4 separate regions of the Homo sapiens genome follow, and regions 2, 3 and 4 are each linked to region 1. Evidence: promoter capture Hi-C in 16 types of primary human blood cells and fetal thymus (Javierre and others, 2016). All regions are on one chromosome and are shown on one strand. The core of a region is centred on a gene start or on the middle of the fragment in contact, and the rest is flanking DNA. Distances in the headings are between cores, read along the strand shown.

Region 1 (3,091 bases), core at 283-2,782:
CCCTGCCCTGGGTGCAGAGCCTGGTGCACAGGGTGTCCAGGCATCCTGCTTTGCCCTGGAGAGCCCTGGTTTCCACTTGTCCTGGTGAGATTATAATAAGTCCCCTTTTAATCTGATGTGTGTCCTCATTAGGTGATAATTCTATGGTCGCTCAACTTGTAAAGTTTGTATTTTATCCAGAGGGAATGGGGAGCCACTGAAGGCTTTAGCTGGAGGGTGTTTTGAGCAGATGTTGGTCTATATGGAGAATGGGCCATAGGGGAGAGAATGGAAGCTGCTGGGGTCTTCCAAGTGGGAGATAAAGGCAGCTTGCCCTGAGTGGAGAAGTGAACGGAGTGGAGAGATGCAGAGTAGGCACTGCTATCAGACAAAGGTGATGAATTGGATGTGCTGGGTGAGGGCTTCCAGCTTCCTTGTCCCTCTATGTTTAGAGTCCTGGTCCTTCTGCCAGTATTTTGCTCTGTGACCTTAAGCCAGTCCCTTCACCTCTCTCAGCCTCAGTGTCTACATCCATATAAGGGCTTCTCAGACAATTTATAATAAAGGAGGAGTACCTTCTTGGGTTTATTTATTTGCAAAAATATTTCCCAAGGGCCTTTGCACAAGCTGTTCCCTCTACCTCCTCATTGTTACGGTCTCTGCTGAAATATGACCACCTTAGGAGGCCCTTCCTGACCATCCTCTGCTGCTCTTGTCTTGGTTTATCTCTACCCTATCAGAATTATAGTTTCCTGTTTATTTACTTGCTGTCTACGACTAGAATGTAAGTCCCTGAAAGCAGGGATTTGCTTCTTCAGAGATGTCTATCCATCCCCAGCGCCTAGCACAGTGTCTGGTACATAGTAGGTGCTTAATGTTTGTTTGTTTGGTTGAATGAATGAATGAACGAATGAATGAATGAATGAATGAATGAATTGGGTAGATGGTTAGCAAATGCTTTCCCTGCCACCTTAATGCCCCTAAATCATTTAGCTGCACCCACTCCAAGCCTTCTCTGGCCGGGGAGCATCAATCCTAGGAGCCAGATCATCTGACCTGGAGGGTGATGATTCAAAAAATTTGAACCTGGAGGTTAAAATTCTGCCTGTCTCTGCCACTTAACAGCTGAGTTTAGATAAATCGCTTGATCTCTCTCGGCTGCATTTTTCACATTAATTCTGACCTTGCGGAGATGTGGTGAGGATCTAGATAGGAACTAGACAGGAAAAAGCCCCAAGCGAATTCGGCGCTTTTGTTTGAAGCTATATTTTCTTTTTCTTTCACAATCGCGCCTTCCCAAGCCTAGTCACCCCTGCCCTTCTCACTAAGCACATCACAACCTCCCTCGCACCCGATGTGTGGGGACTTGCAGGTTGCTGGGCCCTCGAGCACGCAGATATTTCCTTTCTCTAAAAGGGAAGGAAAAGAGCCTTCCAGGCCACGGGTCGTGCAGGTCTCCGGGGCGGGCGTCAGCGGCGGCGTATGTGCGTGCGCGCGCGCCTGCGCATCAGGGCCGGGGGACGGGTAAGGGGGGGGTGAAGAAGGGGCCGGCCTTCAAGCAAGAGCGACGCAAGATGGCAGCCACCACGGGCTCGGGTGAGCGGGGGCGCCGGGCCCGGCCGGCCGAGGGGGCATGGGCTTGGGCCGGGGGCCGGGGACCCTCAAAGCCTCCTGCAGCGGAGCCAGGGTCCCCGCGCCGCCTCTGTCTGCTGGGCTCCGCGGCAGCCACCGGCGCGGCCTGACCGGGGGAGGAGGAGCAGGCGGTGGCCGGAAGCACGGGCGGGGGGCTGAGGGGCCTGTGGGCGGCGCGGCGAGGCCCTGAGGCTCCCCCGGGAGGCGTGAGGGCCCTCTGTGCTGTCTGGGGGAGCCGGAGTGGGCGAGGAGCGAGCTCCGAGGCACTCCTGAGGATACCGGGGCTGGCGACTCTTAAGGGGCGATCTAGAGGTCCCCTAGAGGAGGCGCCCCACAGCGGATGGAAGTCCCATACTGGGTGCCAGGGGTGCGGCTGAGAGGGGCCTTGGGATGTCTGGAGGGGACATCAGAGAAGCCCTTCAGGCTGGATGGAAGAAACGGGATCCTGAGGGGGTGACTTGAGAGGATCCCCTATCGGTTGAGGGAACGGCTCCGGCGTTAGTTTTAGAGATGGGGTTAGCTGAGGAAATAGCTATGTTGACTAGAAAGGAGGAGCCTTGGAGCAGCTGCTTTTGGGGAGAATGAAGGGGGTCTCCGCATGATAAGTGAGAGGAGGGAAAAGGATTCAGATGCCAGAGGGACCTAATAGCGGTGATAGTGAAATGACCCCATCATTACCAGTCTCCTGTTCGAGGATACAGATGGATTGCTTCAAGTTAGGTTTCAGGGGACAAGGTCCGAGTGGGGCAGTTGGTGGAAGCCTCTGATATTGGATGAGGGAGAACAGATGAATTGGGAGCCCCGAGGATGTCTCTTTGGGAGTGGGGATTCAACTGAGGGAAGCCCCTGAAATGAGGGAGTGGAAAAGGTCGGGTTCCGGAGATGTTTCCTGTAAAGGAGAAAAGTCTCCTCTTTTTGAATTGAGTGAGGGAAGCATATCCTAGAAGTGTCTCTTCTGTGGAGACGCTCACTCTCATCGACTCCTTTAATAATTGGGACAGATATGTGGGTTCAGCTCAGAAGTTCCCCACTGGCTGATGGGAGTAGGGAGGTGAATAGATGAAATGGGAACTCTTGGGTGAGGCTGCACCCTCAGGTGCCTGGCAGTGAAGTTGGCCAAGGAGGTTCTCTCAGATGGGGTGAAAATGGGTTACCTCTCTGATGGAGGAAGCAAACAGGGCCACAGTGTTCCCCACTGTGGGGCTGCAGGGACACCAGCCTGAGTACAGCAATCATTGGCATATTTAAGGCCACAGCAGCGGCAGTGTTGGGAAGGAATTGGTGATCCATGGGAAATAGGGTGAGGGGAATTCTTTATAAATGTTGCTACTCTGCGGTCTCAAGGAGCCATACTTGCCTGATGGTTGGGGTGGGAATAAAAGAAATTGAATGTGGGGGATCTGACTGAAGTGACCCACCACAAGCTGCTGCCTTTTGAGTTTAAAACAGTGGGGTCTTCTTGCAGAATAGCGGAGACCAT
Region 2 (3,091 bases), core at 565-3,064, 440 kb before region 1:
GAAGATCTTTTATTATGCTAACCAAAGATTAAATAACTACTTCTAATCTACTGAATGTGTAAAATTTCCACAGAGAAAACAAAATAAAATAAAAGCCTTTAAAACCGATTAAGATGACTGCTGGGTAAACTGATGAGCCAAACCAAAAGGGAATAATAAACTTGCCATGAAACAGATTCCCAGAAGAGTCCCCTGAACAAAAACACTAAAGATGTCAGGAGTCATTCAGTGTGTGCCTCAGCATTTCAGGGCTGGATCACACTAAATTAGAAATTTTACCAATGGGAAATAGTATCAACAGGTAACAAACAGGTTCTTTACGGATCTCTCCTTCCCCCAGTCCACACCTCAGTGGTTTTTTAAGAGCCTCCTTTCTCTTAGTGTAGATTTCAGAAATGTGATAGAATAAAACGCCACACATCATAGATGTCAAATGTGTACGGCTCTCCCAGAGTGCACGCCTGATCATGTGCTCCTGAAGCAGGCTTGGGTGTGCCCAAAGCTTACAGGTAAATGGTTTCCATTTCACTGTATCATTTTACATAGGCATCAGGCACACAAAGTGATCTGAATCATTTCTGTGGTAAACCATTGTCATGAGAGAAAAAAGCAAGTCCTTCCAAAGTTATGATTTAGCTAGGCTAGGAAGATTCACAAGCACTTGATCAAGTTTAAACAAAGCATCTGCTGAGCTGGAGATTTTAAAAGGGGCAAGGAGGGGCAGAAACCTTCTTCACCTGAATAGTTTTTATAGCTCTTCCTCATTTCCCATCCTTCCCCACTCATTTAAGAAGGTAACAGATGATCTCCCAATGAACACAAAGGGGTAACATGCTTACAAAACTCTGGTAACAGAATGAATTAGAGCCTGGAGTTAATTAATTTTTATATTTATTCAGGAAAGCTCATTATCCATTATTCAGACACCTCCCAAACTCAATTAGGCAAAAAGTCAAACTTGGGTGAAAAGCTGGCAATATTTGATTAGAGATTTCTATTTCTCCTGAAAACACACAGGCATAAAAGCCAGTTTATCCTTGCGGAAATATTTCCATGTTTATATTAAGCACTTCATCAAGTGAAACATCACAATCTGGGTTTAACACCCTTCTCCTCGGTCCACAACTGGGTGAATGTCTCTTACGGGCTCCATGGTAAAATGCATTACTCATTTTAAAGCTATCTGCTAAGTGAAGAAGTAGAGGCAGCAACCCATTAGCAGCCAGGAGTCTGAGAAGAAGTGCTTTGGACTCTCATCTTAGTGTCCCCTCCTAACACAGGCCCAGGCCCAGGGTAGGCACTCAACATAATTTTGTTAACTGAATCAATGGATACTTCAAAGGTTCCCAAAGCTTGAAGTGTCCTTAACAATATACCAACATTCTTTATAGAACAGAAGTGCTCCTGAAAGGGAATGTGTATAAGCAAATATCTGATCCAATCCTATTTTCTCAATTACTTGTTACAAAATGGAAATTACTGAAATCACATTTATTTTATTTATTTGCAGTTGACCCACACAGCCTTCTGACCAAACAGTGTCAAAATAGTTACTAAAACATGGATTCAAAGCAGAAAGAGTAATTTTTGAAAGTGATCTCTGTTTTAAAAGTCTGAAGGAATAAAAAATTCCAAGGGTACCTTTTACTCACTGGAACTTCAGGGAACTACAAAGTCCCTTAGCACCCATCACATCTTCTAAGATCTCCCGGAACCTCCATTCTACAAATGGTTATCTAATTTGATTGTTCGGGTTGTTACCTGGTTCTTCAGGGAAGCTACTGGCTTTCAGAAATGTACAGACAGAGCTAGATTGAAGGGAAATGCAGAAATATAGTAAAGGCAATGATTTAAAATGCAGTAAGTGAACACACAGTGTACATTTCCTGGAACTCTTGCAGTAGTCGCTGAATAGGGAGATATATATAGAAGGGGGGGTGGGGTAACTAGCATAAAATTTTAGAAACCAGATCTTCAAAGTAATGCATGTTGAACAAATTTTGTTAATCACAAATCTCATTATAAATGAGAAAATTTCTATGTAACAAAGTATACTCCGAGGAATATACAAATCATCAGAGGTTCAATGTCTTCCAGGTCAAAAGCAATGCTATATATGAAAGTTAATGAAACGATATAATTTACTACAAAAACCTTAGGAAAATATTTTTATTATATTTATGTGTACATTCATATAAGCAATATGAAATAAATCATATACTTAATATGAAATGCTAAGATAAACTACACTGTTTAATAATAAAGAAAAAGCTTAAAATTAAGCTAATCAGTACCAAGTCTGTTTTGGTTTAAATTTTAAAATGACTATGTACTGAATAAGAACACATACTAAAAAGCAAACCAGAATCTTTTGGTTTGGTGATAGTTGAATGAAAGACAGGGGTTGAGGGGAGGAAGGGGCAAAACTGGTCAGCATTGAAAAGGCAGCAGGATACCAAGTAACTGTCCCTGCCACAGCTGGAGGAAGCGTTGGGTCCGCTTGTACAGTGGTCTGGGGCAAGGTTAATAGATAATGGAGCTACAAGTCACTAACAGAACAATTATGTGCACTTGGAAAACTACGTGGAAAAAAAACAATCAACTGCTTTACAAACTCCCCACAAATCAAGGGATAAGGGCAGGAATGAGGGCATGAAAAATGCTTCGTGAAACTGGCATGGAGACCTTCTGGTGGAGAGGGTGGGGCTGCTTTCACACTCTGATGTACACCCACTGCTCCAAATATAAAACAATGGTCAATTAAATTTAGAGAAAACCATAAAGGCACAGCTAGGCTCAAAAACAGCATGAGAATAAAAACAAAACAAAAGGCTCCCAACTCAAAATGACCTAGAAGCAAGGTATCAAACACAGAAGACAACTAGTTAGTTCTACAAATGATAACCAACAAATCAACTAGAACAAAAATCCATTCCATATGCAATTTATTGTATAGCTTGTTGGGGACTTTAAAAATAAACATACTTGGGCCAAGCGTGGTGGCTCATGCCTGTAATCCCAGCACTTTGGGAGGCCAAGGCGGGCGGATCACTTCAGGTCACAAGTTCAAGACCAGCCTGGCCAACAGGGT
Region 3 (3,091 bases), core at 249-2,748, 380 kb before region 1:
CTTCTGTCTCTACCTTCCTTTAGCCCTATGGGTCTCATGTTTAGACACATTCCTTCCCCAGAGCACCAGTTGTTTGGAAGTCAAGATCTTTTGGAAACTACCTGTATTAACTTATCATCACTGCCTGCTAAATAAGATTCTCTCTGGTCACTCCTTACTTCTTCATTTCAGGAGCGAAATTGGTATCTGGTGGGGTGAAAGCAGAACCTCGGCCTTCATGCAACTCTGTGTTTGGGTATGGAATGATCCTCTCATATTGGTCTTAGCAATCTGCACGTGTGTCTCTCTCAGCCCTCACAGTCGTGGATCCTGTAGTATTCATCTTGCTATGTCCCCAGGGCCTAGCCCAGGACCTGGGCGAGAAGAGGTGCTCCCTGAATGCTTGTCAAATAAATATATGAAGAATTAATCATCACATCCCATTTTATCACCTCCCTAAACAGAGTCATTTTCCCTCCCCACTGCCTTCCTGCATTCCTCTAGGGCAAGATGGTTCTTGCAGAGAGAGAGAGAGAGAGAGTGAGAATGAAGAAGAGGTTAACCCAATTGTCATTTCCAAAGCAGCTGTTAATCCCTGCCTTCTTAAATTACCCTTATTGTACCCACTTTCAGCCTCAATGTTGGGTCAGCACTGAGGCAACTCTGACTTTGGTCTCCTTTAAAAAAAAGGAAAAAGAAGGAAGGAGGGAGAGAAGGAAACTCTGCCTGTATTCAAACCATTTCAAGAAACATGGTTGAACTAAAGAGAGAAGCAATTTAAAGTGGGTGTTTTCACACGCAGAGCTGGAAGTTCTAGCATTGGAGGTAGGACATTTTTGTTGTTCTTATTTCTTTTTCTTATCACAAAAGGAATACTCATTTAATGAAGAAAACTTGAAAAGTGCATATAAAAGAGACACAACTTACTTTTTTTTTTTTTTTTTAAACGGAGTTTCACTCTTGCTACCCAGGCTGGAGTGCAATGGAGCGATCTTGGCTCACCGCAACCTCTGCCTCCCAGGTTCAAGCAATTCTCCTGCCTCAGCCTCCCTAGCAGCTGGGATTACAGGCACGCACCACCATGCCTGGATAATTTTGTATTTTTAGTAGAGACAGGGTTTCTCCATGTTGGTCAGGCTGGTCTCGAAATCCCGACCTCAGATGATCTGCCTGTCTCGGCCTCGCAAAGTGCTGGGATTACAGGCGTGAGCCACTGCGCCTGGCCCACAACTTACTTTTAACTCTTACTACCTGTGCTGGTCACTGCTCACGTGTTGTGTGTGTGTTTTTTGTTTTGTTTTGTTTTTGTTTGAGACGGAGTCTCACTCTGTCCCTCAGGCTGGAGTGCAGTGGTGCGATCTCGGCTCACTGCAAGCTCTGCCTCACGGGTTCACGCCATTCTCCTGCCTCAGCCTACCGAGTAGCTGGGACTACAGGCGCCCGCCACCATGCCCGGCTAATTTTTTTTTTGTATTTTTAGTAGAGACGGGGTTTCGCCGTGTTAGCCAGGACGGTCTCGATCTCCTGACCTTGTGATCTGCCCACCTCGGCCTCCCAAAGTGCTGGGATGACAGGCGTGAGCCACCGCGCCTGGCCACTGCTCACATTTTGGTAAGCACATTTTCACAAGTTCTTAGGTCTCTCTGTCACTTCATCTCGATCTTCATCCTCCCTTTATTCTAACCCCTCCCTTTCACTCTGTCTTTCTGAGGTCTCTGTCTCTCTCTTTCTCTTTTTATCAATTTTTTTTTTTTTTTTTTTTTTGGTGACAGAGTCTCACTCTGTTGCCCAGGCTGGAGTGGCACAATCTTGGCTCTTTGCAAGCTCTGTTTCCTGGGATCAAGTGATTCTCCTGCCTCAGCCTCCCAAGTAGCTGGGATTACAGGCATGTGCCACTACGCCCAGCTAACTTTTTGTATTTTTAGTAGAGACAGGGTTCACCATGTTGGCCAGGCTGGTCTTGAACTCCTGACCTCAGGTGATTCGCCCGCTCAGCCTCCCAAAGTGCGAAAGAGATAAATACCCCAGCTCCTTGCTTCTCAGGTATGGCAATGTGGAGGCATGGCCCTTACATGGGTGGGTTTGAGCCCCACTGGCCCACATGCTCATTCATGTCCCTTCCCAGACATTATTTGAAGACATTATTTGAAGACATCAGGAGCATTTTTACTGTTTAAGCCACTTTGGATTGGCTTGCTACTTGCAGTTGAGAGCATGCTAACTGGTACATGGTCTTTGTCTTCTGTCTCTATCTTCCTGTAGCCCTATGGGTCTGAAGTTCAGCCATATTCCTTCCCCAGAGCCCTAGTTGCCTTGGAAGTCAAGATCTTTTAGAAGCCACCTGCATCAACTTTTCACCACTGTCCTAAATCAGAAACTTCGTGGTCACTTCCCCACTCCTCACCTGCTGCCTCCAAGGATCTCCTCAGGAATAAATTACTTGCATTTAAATCCTTGTCTCAGAGTTGGCTTCTGGAGGAACTCAGATGAAGATGGCAGACTTATCACTTTTCCTTTTGTCTAACTAAAAGGCTTCAAATAGAAATCAATTATTCAACTGATTATGAATCCAAAAATTTCTGGCATATTTGAAAGAGCAGATCATCCCGACTTTTAGTCCTCAAGATATCAAAAATATTGCATCTCCATCTAGCACCTCCCCCCCCATTACACACCTGCTTTGTGCTAGGCACTTTACATGTGCAACAGGATGATGTTAGGGGTGCTCTGAGTCTCTTGGCCTAAGTTCAAAGGTCATTCAGCAGTTGGGGTCAGCCACCTTCCTTCACGGCTCGCTGTGGAGCCATTTCAGCAGAATGGCAGCCCATCCTTATGCCCATTCTACCGTGGGCGTCAAGGAGAAGGGGAAAGAGAGCACGTCTTGCTTCTCCTGCTCCCCCTACCCATTGTCCCAGCTCCAAGCCACTAGAATCATGAGTCTGGCTTGAACTGGGTGACATGGGGCCAGGGGATCTAAAAGAACTTTGAATCAGATCTGAGAATGAAGTTTTTTCCAAGGAAATTTATATTGAACTATAAAACACATACAGAAAAGTATATGTGTGTACATGCACACAGATATATCATAAGTGCACGGCTCAGTGAATTTCCC
Region 4 (3,091 bases), core at 377-2,876, 350 kb before region 1:
AAATTCTAGCCAAATAATTTTGCCTTCTGAAGGCACTAAGTCTGAGGCCCACTCTCAAACAGAAAGTTCGGAAGGGAGGCAGGTAAGTGTTAGAAAGGCGTTAATGTCATGTTCCTATCAAACTGAGACTGCCGCCTAGATGCCATCAGAATGATTGACAGAGAATGAAATGTTATTTGATACTGGGGTGCTGTGCCCACCAAGATCTCCCCACGAATCCCACTGGTATTTGTTCTATACTTTGGAAGACCCAGCTTCAGAATCGCTCTAGGGGAGTAGAGAAGGAAACTCAGTGTCTGAGGGAGGGATGATAATGACAGCCACCTGTTAGGGGTGCCGCTATGTTGCACAGTTTCATGAATGGGGCCCCTGAAGTTGTGCAACATGGCGGTCCTGGAGAGAATCTCTGCGGGTTACCTCATTTAATTCCCACCTCCGCTCTGCCAGGTAGGCAGGATTACCTCCATTTCGCAGCTGAAAAAACTCAGATTCAGGGAAGTTCAGTGCCTGGCTCAGGACCGCAGCTGGAGGGGTCGGGGAGAGGCTCTAACCCTCCGGCTTGAAGGTGTAGTTTCAGACTTGGCCACTTGGTGTCACTCTCTCCAAACTGTCGGAAGAACCTCTGAGCTGGCCGGTTTGTGGGGGACTCCGGGCCCAGCTAGTTGCACACTGATCCCCAGTCCGGCAAAGCGGCCCCTCCTGTCCTCCCTCCGCCCTGTCACCCTTGCGGGGTGCAGAATTTCTGCCTGTTCCCTGTTTGAACTGGGTCTCTGAGTACGCCTGAGCCAAGTACTTCACAGGCATGATCTCACTCGAGCCTGCCAGCAGCAATGTGGTCTCAGACTACAGATGAGGAAACTGAGGCCAACGGCGTAGGAGCAACTTGCCCAGCTAGTAAGTGGCAGTCAGAGTTTGAACTCAGGTCTGAGTTAGAAGCTTGGCGTTTTGATGCCCAGAAAGTGCATGGTAGGACAGTTGTATTAATTCTCGATTTTTCATAGAATATATTTCCAACCCACTCCTCAGTCTCTGTAATGTCCTTGGCAATGAAAATAATCTGCCTGTTTAGAGAAGTGTATGTGTTTTTGGTCTTTTCTTTTTTTCATGTAGAAGTTAGTTTTCCCCTGACTACCAAGAGAACACTGAGGTGTTTACTTACTTAATTTTTAAAAAAATTATCTGAATATACCTTGATAATTATTTATTTTATTTTATTTTATTTTATTTTAAGACGGAGTCTCGCTCTGTTGCCCAGGCTGGAGTGCAGTGGTGTGATCTGGGCTCACTGTAACCTCTGCCTCCCAGGTTCAAGTGATTCTCCTGCCTCAGCCTTCTGAGTAGCTGGGACTACAGGTGAGCACCACCACACCCAGCTAATTTTTTTTTTTTTTTGTATTTTTAGTAAAGACGCGGTTTCACTATGTTGCCCAGGCTGGTCTCAAACTCCTGGGCTCAAATGATCCTCCTGCCTCGGCCTCCTAGAGTGCTAGGATTTACAGGCATGGGCCACCACACCCGGCTGGTAATTATTTTTTTAAATTAGAAAATCTAAGTAAAAAGAACAAAATATAGCCAGAAGTGGTGGTGCATGCCTGTGGTCCCAGCTACTTGGGAGGCTGAAGCTGGAGGATCACTTGAGCCTAGAAGATCAAGGCTGCAGGGTGCTATGATTATGCCACTGTACTCTAGCCTAGGTGACAAAGTGAGACCCTGTCTCTGTATTTTTTAAAAAGAACAGACCGGGCACAGTGGCTCACACCTGTAATCCTAGCACTTTGGGAAGCTGAAACAGAGGGATCGTTTGAGCCCAGGAGTTCAAAACCAGCTTGGGCAACTTAGTGAGACTTCGTCTTTACAAAAAAAAATTTAATTAAAAATAAAAAATCAGCCAGGCATGGTGGCAAGTGCCTATAGTCCCAGCCACTCAGGAGGCTAAGCTGGGAGGATCACTTAAGCCCAGGAGGCAGAGGTTTCAATGAGTGGTGATCGCATCACTGCACTCCAGCCTGGGTGATAGAGCAAGATCTTGTCTCAAAATAAATAATTGATTAGAGAAATAATAAAAAAAGAACAAAATAAAAGTCGCTTCTAATTCACATCAGCCACCCAGAGATAAGTGCTATTGACACGTTGGAGCATATCCTTCAAGGCATTTTTCTCTCTGTCATCTATCAATGCATTAAAAAGTTCCATTTTTAAAAACTAACAAGGGATTGTATTCATATGCAAAAATTCAAAAGATACCAAAAGATTTACAGTGGGTCTTCTCCCTCTAATCCTTAACCCCCATCCCCAGCTTTAAAACTCCAAGCTTCCCTCCCCAGAATCCATTCTGGTTATCATTTCTTGGGGATCATTACAGAGACATCCAGAACACAGATAAGCAAATATGTGCGTGGATTCCTGTACTCATTTCTCTAAATAGAAGCACACCACACACCCTGTTCTGCACTGGGATTTTGTTTTTTTCAACTTAGCAATGTACCTTGGCAGATCTTTCCAGATCAGCACTAGGAGAGCATTCTTTGCACATTCCATTGTCTGAATATAATAATTTATCTAACAAGTTTTCTGGTGATAGTCACGGAGGTATTTCCAGGGTTTTTCTGCAACAAACAATGCTGCAATTAGTATCCCTTTCACAGAAGTCTTTCCATGTATTCAGAGCTATTTCTGATGGATACATTCTTAGCAACTGAATCGCCCAGTCATAGGGCAGGTGCGTTTAAACATTTTGACGCTGGTTGTCTAAATGCTCTCTAAGGTTGTACCTACCAATCGTCATTTGCACCGGCAACCTCCGTGAGCTCTGGTTTCCCCACGTCCTAGCCAAGGCCAAGTATGATTGGACTTCTTGATCTTGGCCTTGCCGATAGGGGAAAAAGGTGTTCACCATAGTTCTAATCTACATATTCATTGTTTATATGTTAGATTGGACATTTAAAAAATACGTTCAAAGACTGTTTATATTTCTTTTCTGGTGGCAAAGCATTCAAATTGTTAGTCTATTTTTCTCTTGGATAATTGTCTTTTTGTTGATCTGCTAGGGATTTTTATATACTAAGAAAATGAGGTATTTGTTTCTCATACA

What was found. The method cuts DNA at HindIII sites, captures the fragments that hold promoters and counts their contacts. A CHiCAGO score of 5 or more calls a contact.
Region 2: a contact is called between a fragment that was not itself captured here and the fragment with the promoter of UBE2V1 in region 1, in 1 of 17 cell types (monocytes). The highest score is 5.5, in monocytes.
Region 3: a fragment that was not itself captured here is called in contact with the fragment with the promoter of UBE2V1 in region 1 in 3 of 17 cell types (monocytes, neutrophils and naive CD8 T cells); the score reaches 6.9 in monocytes.
Region 4: a fragment that was not itself captured here is called in contact with the fragment with the promoter of UBE2V1 in region 1 in 3 of 17 cell types (total CD8 T cells, M0 macrophages and total CD4 T cells); the score reaches 5.9 in total CD8 T cells.

The regions. Positions count from the first base shown.
Region 1 is chr20:50,111,591-50,114,681 of GRCh38, reverse strand. It overlaps UBE2V1 (ubiquitin conjugating enzyme E2 V1), which reads left to right and starts at 1,532. Exons shown (of 4, transcript NM_001032288.3): 1 at 1,532-1,575. The coding sequence starts at 1,554. The region is part of intron 5 of PEDS1-UBE2V1 (PEDS1-UBE2V1 readthrough); the gene reads left to right. RefSeq lists enhancers at 613-1,180, 1,185-1,294 and a silencer at 1,465-2,004. The HindIII fragment of the contact is 8,664 bases long and covers 1-3,091 here.
Region 2 is chr20:50,548,915-50,552,005 of GRCh38, reverse strand. All of the region lies in intron 1 of PTPN1 (protein tyrosine phosphatase non-receptor type 1), which reads right to left. Among named protein-coding and RNA genes, the nearest start is that of MIR645, 35 kb to the left of the region's middle. The HindIII fragment of the contact is 919 bases long and covers 1,355-2,273 here.
Region 3 is chr20:50,494,306-50,497,396 of GRCh38, reverse strand. No RefSeq gene overlaps it. Among named protein-coding and RNA genes, the nearest start is that of PTPN1, 15 kb to the left of the region's middle. The HindIII fragment of the contact is 8,989 bases long and covers 1-3,091 here.
Region 4 is chr20:50,461,926-50,465,016 of GRCh38, reverse strand. No RefSeq gene overlaps it. Among named protein-coding and RNA genes, the nearest start is that of PTPN1, 47 kb to the left of the region's middle. The HindIII fragment of the contact is 1,375 bases long and covers 939-2,313 here.